Linked DNA regions of Homo sapiens: region 2 is linked to region 1. The links are contacts of gene promoters, found by promoter capture Hi-C in blood cells and fetal thymus (Javierre and others, 2016). All regions are on one chromosome and are shown on one strand. The core of a region is centred on a gene start or on the middle of the fragment in contact, and the rest is flanking DNA. Distances in the headings are between cores, read along the strand shown. Region 1 holds the start of CCDC116 (coiled-coil domain containing 116). Region 2 has its middle 59 kb from the start of LRRC74B.

What was found. Contacts are between HindIII fragments. The CHiCAGO score rates a contact against its expected background, and 5 or more counts as called.
Region 2: a fragment that was not itself captured here is called in contact with the fragment with the promoter of CCDC116 in region 1 in 5 of 17 cell types (endothelial precursors, naive CD4 T cells, M1 macrophages and 2 more); the score reaches 6.9 in endothelial precursors.

The regions. Positions count from the first base shown.
Region 1 is chr22:21,631,124-21,635,851 of GRCh38, reverse strand. CCDC116 (coiled-coil domain containing 116) reads right to left here and starts at 3,092. Exons shown (of 5, transcript NM_152612.3): 1 at 3,025-3,092; 2 at 2,599-2,732; 3 at 1,282-1,830; 4 at 586-1,167. The coding sequence starts at 2,670. RefSeq lists an enhancer at 2,861-3,360. The HindIII fragment of the contact is 2,744 bases long and covers 2,073-4,728 here.
Region 2 is chr22:21,102,252-21,106,864 of GRCh38, reverse strand. It overlaps the pseudogene BCRP2. Among named protein-coding and RNA genes, the nearest start is that of LRRC74B, 59 kb to the right of the region's middle. RefSeq lists enhancers at 3,984-4,033, 3,482-4,453. The HindIII fragment of the contact is 889 bases long and covers 2,739-3,627 here.

The sequences.
Region 1 (4,728 bases), core at 1,843-4,342:
CCCCCATGTAGGAGCGTCTCTAGATTCACATACAAACGTTAGAAAAAATACCCAGCATAAAAAATAGCCTTTATTTATCTGTGACAACACCTGGTAATAGCTAGGCCAGGATTCATGGGCCCCCATCAGCTTGACCCCTGCCCAGGAGGTTTCCACAGTGCAGGGCAAGAGACCTTGACCTTGAGCACCTGTTAGTGACAGTGGCTGCTAGGAGTGGTGGGTCAAGGAGCCCTTCTCCTGCAAACTCATGCCCGGTCCTACTTTTGAGGAGGTCACCTCTGGACACAGTGAGGCGGGAGATGAAGAGGCAACTGGAGAGAGCTCAGGGAGAAGGTAGCAGGAAGAGCGGGGGTAGGGGGAGGAAAGTGGAGGTGTGACAGGGCCCCTGAGGTGGCCCTGGCTGCAGGCCACCTCCACCACAATCCCTGGCGTGGGCAGGGTGAGGTGCAGGCCCTGCCAGGGCTGGGCCCTCTGGCTGGAGCTCAGGGAAACAGGTGGGTTTTGTAATTTGGGATCTGAGTCAGGTGCCTCCTCCCTGGAGTGGAGTGAGGGGCTGGGGACATTGGGCTTCTCCGTGGGTGTCACCTTGAGTTTGAATCTGGTGGCCACCTGGGCACTAGACATGGAGGGGGAGCCTCCTCTGTCCTTGCGTTTTCTCTGAAGCATCTTGGGGCTGGAGACTGTGGGGCGGGGGGAAGCATAGGGCTGCCCGCCATTGGTGGGTTTAGCTGGCTCAGAGCCCAGAGGCGGCAGATCTGAGGTGGGCTCCAAGCTGGTGGGGAACAGAGGACGGCCGTCGCGGCAGTGGGCGCCACGGAGCTTATCCACAGCCTGGCTGACCACGCTTTGCAGGGCAGGGAAGAGGCGGTGGTCAGCCAGGAAGTTCAGCGTGCGATGGGGCTCACGGAGCGGACAGTAGCCAGGCAGGTCGAGGGACTCCAGCTGGCTCAGTAATGACTTGATCTCCTTATTGAACTCTCGCTTGCGGAAGATTGGCTCCTGTTCTCCAGGCCTCGGCTCTGATGCTTCAGGCACGCCAGAGCTTGAGCCCAGCAGCCCTGAGAACCAGGACAAGGGCTGCTCCTGTGTCCACTGAAAGCTGGTCTGGCTACCCAGCGAATCCCACAGCAGGGAGTCCCTCTGGGAGCAGGACTGACTGAGGCCTTTCTGCAGAAAGAGGGTGACTCTGTGAAGTGTTCAGGAGCAGCCAAGCCAGGGCTGACCCTAGCCCTGGGCTCTCCATGGGAGTCCACCCCACCCAGCCATGGCCCTGGCTCTCACCCCTTCCCTCTCCAGCTGTAGCAGCCGCTTGAGGTTCTTCTCCAGCAGGAGTTTGTCCCTCACAGGTGGCAATGAGCCTTGGGCACCTAGGTCACTGTCCCGGCTGTGGGAGCCCAGACAGCCGGCCATGAGGCTGCTATGGCAGTTGGACATGGAGCTGGAGCTGGATGGGTAGTTGTTGGGGTGTCCAGTGCAGAGGGTCGGCCGTACACGGTGCCGGTGTACGGTGCTGAGGCTGGGCCGGGCATGTGCCCGCCGTCCACCACTTGGCACCTCCACTGGGTCCTGCACCTCCACAAGCGGCACCCCAGCCTCCGTCTTCATGGCAGCCATGCGCTCAGTCGCCTTCTCCACCACTGTCTCCAGGCTGTCCAGGACCTGGCTCTCAGTTAGGAAATCCAGAAAGTGGCCAAAGGGCTGAGGGTGCCTCTTGTTTCGGCGTTGGCCCTGGAGTGCTGAGCTGCCACATGTGGATGGTGGGTGTGGCACACGGCCCGGCTTGCAGGCTGGCCGCATTTCTGGGACCAGTGGCTTCTTGGGCAGCTGCACCTGAGCAGACAGGTATGTCACAGGGGGCAGGGGTGCCCTACAGGTGAAGGGTTCCCTGGGGTAACACTAGGACCTGGGTGGGAGTGAGTAGTGGAAGGAGCTGCATTTTGGAGTCTGGAAGCCCTGGGTTTGGACCCTGGCTCTGCCACCTACAGCCTGATGCCAGTGTGCAAGATGGCCCCTCTTGAGGTCCAATGTCCTCATCTGCAAAGTGGAGGTCTATTCAGGGTCACCCCGAAGCTTTCCTAACACCTACATTTCACACACACAAGTCCTGGCTAAGGAGTCTGCAAGCCTGCTTCTGCCCTGACACGTGGCAGGATGAGCAATCATGAATCTCTCGGAGTCTCCCTCCAGCTCCTCATCTGTCCATGCAGCAGGCCATCCCTGTATCCATGGCAGGGCTGCAAACAACATCTGAGGTCTTGAGTGCAGACAACACCTGAGGTCTTGAGCCCTGTGCTACCCGGGCCTGTTTCTCCAACTTGAGCCATAGGCACCTAGTCAACTCCATGCTCCCACTCTAGGGTCCCAGTCCACCCAAGCACCTTCTGGGTCGCTGGAAGTCAGGAGGAAACAAGGAATGAAATTGAGTGTGACAGGGGCAAGCAGTGGGGGACATAGGAGAAGTCAAGGCAATAAGGACTTCACTAAGAGGCCCAGAGAAGTCAATAGACAATGAGAAATGGGGGTTGTGGTCTTGGGTGCCAGGGTTGGTGGGGAACATGTTGTGGCCTCAAGGGTCGGCGCCCTGCTGGGCACACTTACCCGTGCACTGCACATGGAGTGGCTGGCCTCGTCATCGGCCAGGTAACCCGAGTGGTGGCGGCACCTGGCCATGTGGTCACCTGGCAGGTGACCGGGCCTGCTGCCCACCTCTCTCTTCAGCTGCGCATTCCTCTCTGCGTGGGGTGGGGAGACAACCTGAGGGTCTCCAATAGGTCCACGCATCTGTGGCCCTGGAGTCTGCGGGTCCCTCGCTCCCCGCACCCCGCCTCCTTCATGCATCCAGCCCTTCCTCTGCTCCATGGCCCCCATGCGTCTGCAGGCAGGCAGTTTCCAGAGTCATCGGGGTGGAATCGCTGAGGACAATCCTGTCTCCGATCATCTTTGGATCTGCGTGTGCTCGACCCGCCCTCCTCCCAAACCCTGGGCAACCTGGCTTTCACCCCAGCCCAGAATCAACAGACTCACCAGAAACACCGCCTTGCTCCGCACAGGCCAGTACAGTCTGCGCCCTCACTGGAGCAGCTGCACAGTGCGAGGAAGTCGGCTGGCGGCCTCCACTTGCTTATTTGCATACCACATCCTCATTGGTTCTTACCGAGGAGCTCGTCCACTTCCCTCTCCGACACAATGGTTGGGGGCGGGGCCCACATTGGCCCCACCTCCAATTCTCTGGGCTCTGCCCTCCCACACTCGCCTGGGAGCCGCAGGCTGAGGATGCTGGTGCCCACGCTCCCCGCTGCCGGGAGGACCCCCCACCCACCACCGAAGCTGGGGCTAGGCTCTTTGATCTGCTCCTGCCCCGAGGGGAGCCTAAAAGCCAAAGCCACGTCTTCCACCGGTGGCACAAGCACCTTCCTCGTGTCCTCCTTGGTTGCTGCGCAGCCCTGGGCCTCCTGCTCCTGTTCGTTTCCAGGGGCCTCTGCCCTTCCCGCGGTGTGCACAGCCCCAGGTTCTGCCTTGAGACCTCTCCCCTCTGCAGTGGAAAGAGTGCCGGCTCTAAGTCACAGACCTAGCTTCAGTTCCTGGCTCTGCTCTTTCCTGCCAATGTGACTCAACCTCTCAGCATTAGTCCCACACTGTAAATGGGCTTGAGTGTTCTTCCAATATGGGAGTATGGGATTCAATAAAATCTCCCTACAGCACACCCAGTAACCCAGTGGAGCCTTGTGTATTCTTTAATTAATTAATTTATTTATTTGGAGACGGGAGTCTCGCTCAGTCGCCCAGGCTGGAGTGCAGTGGCGCAATCTCGGCTGACTGCAAGCTCCGCCTCCCGTGTTCACGCCATTCTCCTGCCTCAGCCTCCCGAGCAGCTGGGATTACAGGGGCCCGCCACCACGCCCGGCTAATTTTTTTGTAGTTTTAGTAGAGATGGGGTTTCACCGTGTTAGCTAGGATGGTCTCGATTCCCTGATCTTGTGATCCGCCTGCCTTGGCCTCCCAAAGTGCTGGGATTACAGACCTGAGCCACCGCGCCCAGCGGAGCCTTGTATATTCTTACCTCCTCTCCCTCCCTCCTTTTCCCCTTTGCTCAGTAATACCCCACCATGGTGTCACTTCTTCCAAAAACCTTTTACTGTGAATTCTGCCACGCCCTACGCAATTCACAGTAAACCCCATTCCAGACTCTACCATACCATGTTGCTACTTATTTTTCTATCAGATGGTGCTTCTTTGGGGCCAGAACAGAGGCAAGTCACCCTTAATCTCTAATACTTTCAGTGTCTGGCACCAAGTAGGTGCTCAATAAATGTCAGTCTCCTCCTTCCCACCTGCAGACCCTCGGGACCTCTGACCTTTCCAAGATCAGCTTCCAGTGGAGAACGGTGGTTGGTTGAGGTCTGACAATTCACCAGTCACTATAAACACATCAGTCCTTATGCCAAGAGCATGGCTGAAGGACTCTATGAGGCTTTCAATCCTCACATGCCTCACGAAATATTGTTCCTCTCAAGCTCTGCTCTGTCCTCTCAGCTCTGGCTACCCACTAGGTCAGGGACAGAGAGGACATAGCAGGCCTGGGTGCTGGCCCCGAGGTGTGAGGTTCAGTCTTAGCTCCACTACTCCTGGCAGGACCACACTTTCGCTCTCTGAACCCCAGTTTCCTCATCTGTGAAACAGGAATGACATTACCAATTTCATAGCCCGGACACAAATACCACACTTTCC
Region 2 (4,613 bases), core at 1,934-4,433, 530 kb after region 1:
CCTAATTCCTGCATTTGATTATTACCGTTCTTGGCTGTTGCCACAATAGGTTTATCTTTTTACACATCAAAAAAAGGAAATTATGAGGAATCATATATCTGAAAGGGAGTGTTATCTGACAACAGCAGAAACTAACACTACAGAGGGACAAAACATACAAGACCCAATACCCCCAAAAAAACTGGGCAAAAAAACCTGAATAACAGACATTTCTGAAAAGAAGGTATGATATTGATTAAAAGGTAAAAAAGGTGTTTCTCAACATCACTGGTCATCACAAAACTGTAAATAAAGACCACACTCAGATACTATCTAACGCTAAGTAAAATGAATAATACCAAAACAGAAATAATTTAAAAATAAAAGTTCAGGGTGCTGTTAGATATAGAGATCCTCTTATACACTATTGGGAGAAATTTCAATGATGAAACGCACTGAGAAAACCACTTGGAGCACCCTCAGAAATTAAAAATGCAAGAACTGTTTCATCTAGTAATTCTAACCGTGGTTGTGAGCTTAAAGAAAATGAGATCGGTCTGTTGAAGCAACAGCTGCCTTCTGAGGTTTAGTGACCTACTACTCACTAACAATGAGTAACCAAGGTATGAAATCAACCTACCTGTCCACCAACCAATGAAAGGATGAAGGGACTTCAGCATACAGACATGATGAAATATGCCTCATGCATAAAAATTCATGACAACATGTCATTTGCAAAAACACAGACGAACCTGGAAGACATTACATTAAATGAAATCGACTAGGTAGAGAAAGGCAAACACTATGTGATCTCACTTATATGGAATCCAAAAAACTTTACCTTCAAGCAGAAGGTACAGTAGCGGTTTCCTGAGGAGAGGGGAAGGAGGGGGATAGGAGGGGGATGGGAGGGATCGGTTATGGAAACAAAGTTACAGTGAGTTTGGCGAAACACATTTTGGTTTTCTATGCCACAGCTGGGTAACTCTGGTTAACAAAATATTGTATTTTTCAAAAAACTAGAAGGGAGCAATTTGAATGTACTCACAACAAAGAAATAATACCTCAATGAGGGAATAGTTATGATAAGTACCCTGATTTGATCATTACTCAAAGTATACATGTATCAAAATGTCCCCAAAGAAAAAAACATGTCCCAGCATAACTTCTAATTGTGTATGTTATTATACATGGCAAAAATTTAAGAAATATGAATATAAAATGCTAATATTCACATAGAACCACTAATGGCCCTGAACCTCTAAGGAATCCTGAGAAATACAAACTAAGTTGGGAGACTCACAATTCCTGATAGCAAATTACATTGCAAAGCTGTAGGTAGCCAATATATATGGTCATGTGATGTGCTACTGTGCTCTCCAGCCTGGGTGAGAGAATGAGACTCTGTCTCAAAAAAAAAAAAAGAAAGGGAATCATGTAAGCGATAACTCAATCACTGGTTGTTATCAAACATATACACAGAAAAAAAATACAATGTAGCAAAATACATATCCAAACCAATACAAAGAACTTGAGTAGACATCTCTGCAAAGATGACACAAAATTGACCAACATGTAAGAGAAACGGTCCTCAACGTCTCTCATCAGAAAAAAAATGTACCTCAAAACCACATTCAGATGCCGTTTCACTTTTATTGAAATAAATGTTACTAAAAAGTTTTTTTTTAATTTTTTGAGACAGGGACTCAGACTTTGTCACCCAGGCTGAAGTGCAGTGTCGTGATCCCAGCTCACTGCAGCTTTGACCTCCCTAGCTCAGGTGATCATCCCACTTCAGCCTCTCAAGTATCTGGGACTACAGGTGCACACCACCATGCCTCATCCTCCCAAAGTGCTGGGATTACAGGCATGAGCCACTGTTCCTGGCCACAAAATTTTAAAAAGAATGCTGGTATGGATTTGGAGAAAAGGGAACTCTTATACCCTGTTGATGGGAAGATAAATTAGTACATATTCTATGGTAAAAAGTTGGAAGTTGCCATTTTCAAAAAACTGAAAATACAATTACCAGAAGGTCAATGTGGGCAGATTACTTGAGCTCAGGAGTTCGAGACCAGCCTGGGCAACATGGCAAAACCCTGTCTCTACAAAAAATTTAAAAACTTAGCCAGGCATGGTGGTGTGTGCCTGTGGTCTCAGCTACCATAGACTGAGGTGGGAGGGCTGCTTGGGCTGTGGAGGTAGAGGCCACAGTGAGCTGTGATTGCACCACTGCACTCCAGCCTGGGTGACAGAAGAAACCCCGTCTCAAAGAAAATGACAGAAAATGCAAATACTGTAAGATCTAGCAATCCCACTACTGGGTATAACTCCAGAGCAAATGAAATCGGCACCAGAGATCAGAAAGACACAATGGGGACAGGAGAGTTTCTTCATGAAATCATTTTGAGGAAACTGATATCCATATGCAAAAAAGAAAAGAAAAGAAATAGGACCCTTCTGTTACACGATACACAAAAATCAACTCAAAATGGATTAAAGATTTCAACACAAAACCTGAAACCACAAAACATTATTAAATTCCTGTAAGAAAAGATAGGGGGAGCTTACTTTCAGGACAACTTGAATCCATGCTCATCAGTTGGAAAGAGTTTCAAAAAGAAAAAGAGGAATACATAAGGGGTAAAAACCTCATGGAGAATGGAATGGTTTGTGAATGATTTTTTTAAATTGGGGACCAAAATCACAAGCAAGGAAAGCAAGAACAACCATGTGAGGCTACAAGAAACTGAAAAGCTTCTGTGCCACAACGGAAAAAATGAGCCCGAAGTTTGGACGAAAGTTTTGAGGAATCATATAACTGCTAAGGGGTTCTTACCGAAAATATACAACACATTAACAGTACTAAATAGCAATTTAAAACAACAACAAAAAATAATCCACCCCAAACTGGGCAGAGGCCCAGAACAGACATTTCTGCAAAGAGGACAAAAAACCCACACCGAGGAGTCCCTCGCCCCTGGTCAGGCGGCCACGGTGGGAGGGACACGAGAGGACACGCGCTGCCCAAAAGTGAAGAAGAGTGACCCCTGGGTCCTGATGGCAGGAACGAAGATTTAAAAATGCAGCAAGGCCCAATGCAAATCCTCCCTCTGAGGCTTGGACACGAGGCAGCCAGCCAGAACTGGGCCTGGCCCTGACTCCAACCTGAGCGGGGCTTCCCTCTCTCTCCCTCTACACAGGGGAGGTTCCCTCAGAAAAAGTCTTTTTCTGTTGTTGGTTTGGTTTTTTTTTTTTTTTTCAGAACTAGAAATGTATTTATTTATTTATTTATTTTTAATAAAAACCAAGATTTTTTTATTATTATTATACTTTAAAGTTTTAGGGTACATGTGCACAACATGCAGGTTTGTTACATATGTATACATGTGCCATGTTGGTGTGCTGCACCCATCAACTCGTCATTTAGCATCAGGTATATCTCCTAATGCTATCCCTCCCCCCTCCCCCCCACCCAGAAAAAGTCTTAAACCCCTAAAAATACCACAGTCTGCTACACTTGACACCCTCAAAAGCCTTCAGAGAATGAATACCACTGTAAAATAAATACTAAAACACTACAAGAGAAAGAGGAAAACCAGGGAGAACAGGAGAGGAATGAACAGAACATACCAGAAAACTAAAGCTTCTGTACTCACCATGCAGGAAAAATGCCAGGGAAAAGTGCATGGCAGCTTCCTCCTCAGCACTCAGGGCCCAGACAGGAGCGGTTTTCTCCCCAGGACACAGCTCCAAGTCGTCCAGAAGCCTCCGTGATGCCCCTCCTGGCGGGTCCTGAGGGTATCAGAGCTCCTCTCCTCCTCACGGTGGATGCCGCCACTCACTCCATGCAGCACCTGCGGGGAGAACACTGCAAGAGCACGATGTGGGGCAGAAAAGGTGGTTGGGGCGCCCCCTGATGGTCACGGTGCAGAGTGAAGAATGATCTCATCCCATGGTCAGCATCGGCCCAGGCTGCGGCCCCATCGCCCAGGAACTCCTCCCGCTCCTGCTCGGCGTGGGGTGCCACAGCCACCTCCTACTCTTCTGCTACTGTCAGTGCTGCCTGTCTTCTTGGTGCTCCAACGCTGACAATTTGGGGAGACATAAACACTTAGGCTATAGCAAGGAAAATCCAGAATGGTGGTGGAAGAGAAGGACTTAGCATCAGTCACAGTGTGAGACCAGCAGCAGCAACAGGACCTAGGATTCATTCCAATGAGAATCACCTGGAAATCTCCCCCAGGAAAAGAGATCAAACAGATTCCTGGAGGAAATGCTCTTGGGGTTTCTTTAAAGAAGCTAGTGGGACTAAGTAACACAAGACTGGGGCTTTTGTGGAAAGAGTGATGTCCACTAATAATGTCCTCTTAAGGACTGAACATCTCTTCCCAAATAGCTGAATGTGATCGGCAGTAGGCATCAGCTGAGACCTTTTATGACGGCCCTTGGGTAAGGAATCACTCAAGCTCCCTCACTCTTCCAGGGACACAGTTAGCACGGTGATGAAGCTCCAGCGCTCTCACCACCTCTAGACTCTGAGGGGCCATCCCAGCTCCAGAGCTCCCCACAGAAGTGGCTCTGTTTGTTGTAGGTGCATCACACCGAGGCTGGTTCTTTAAATTAACCCTGGG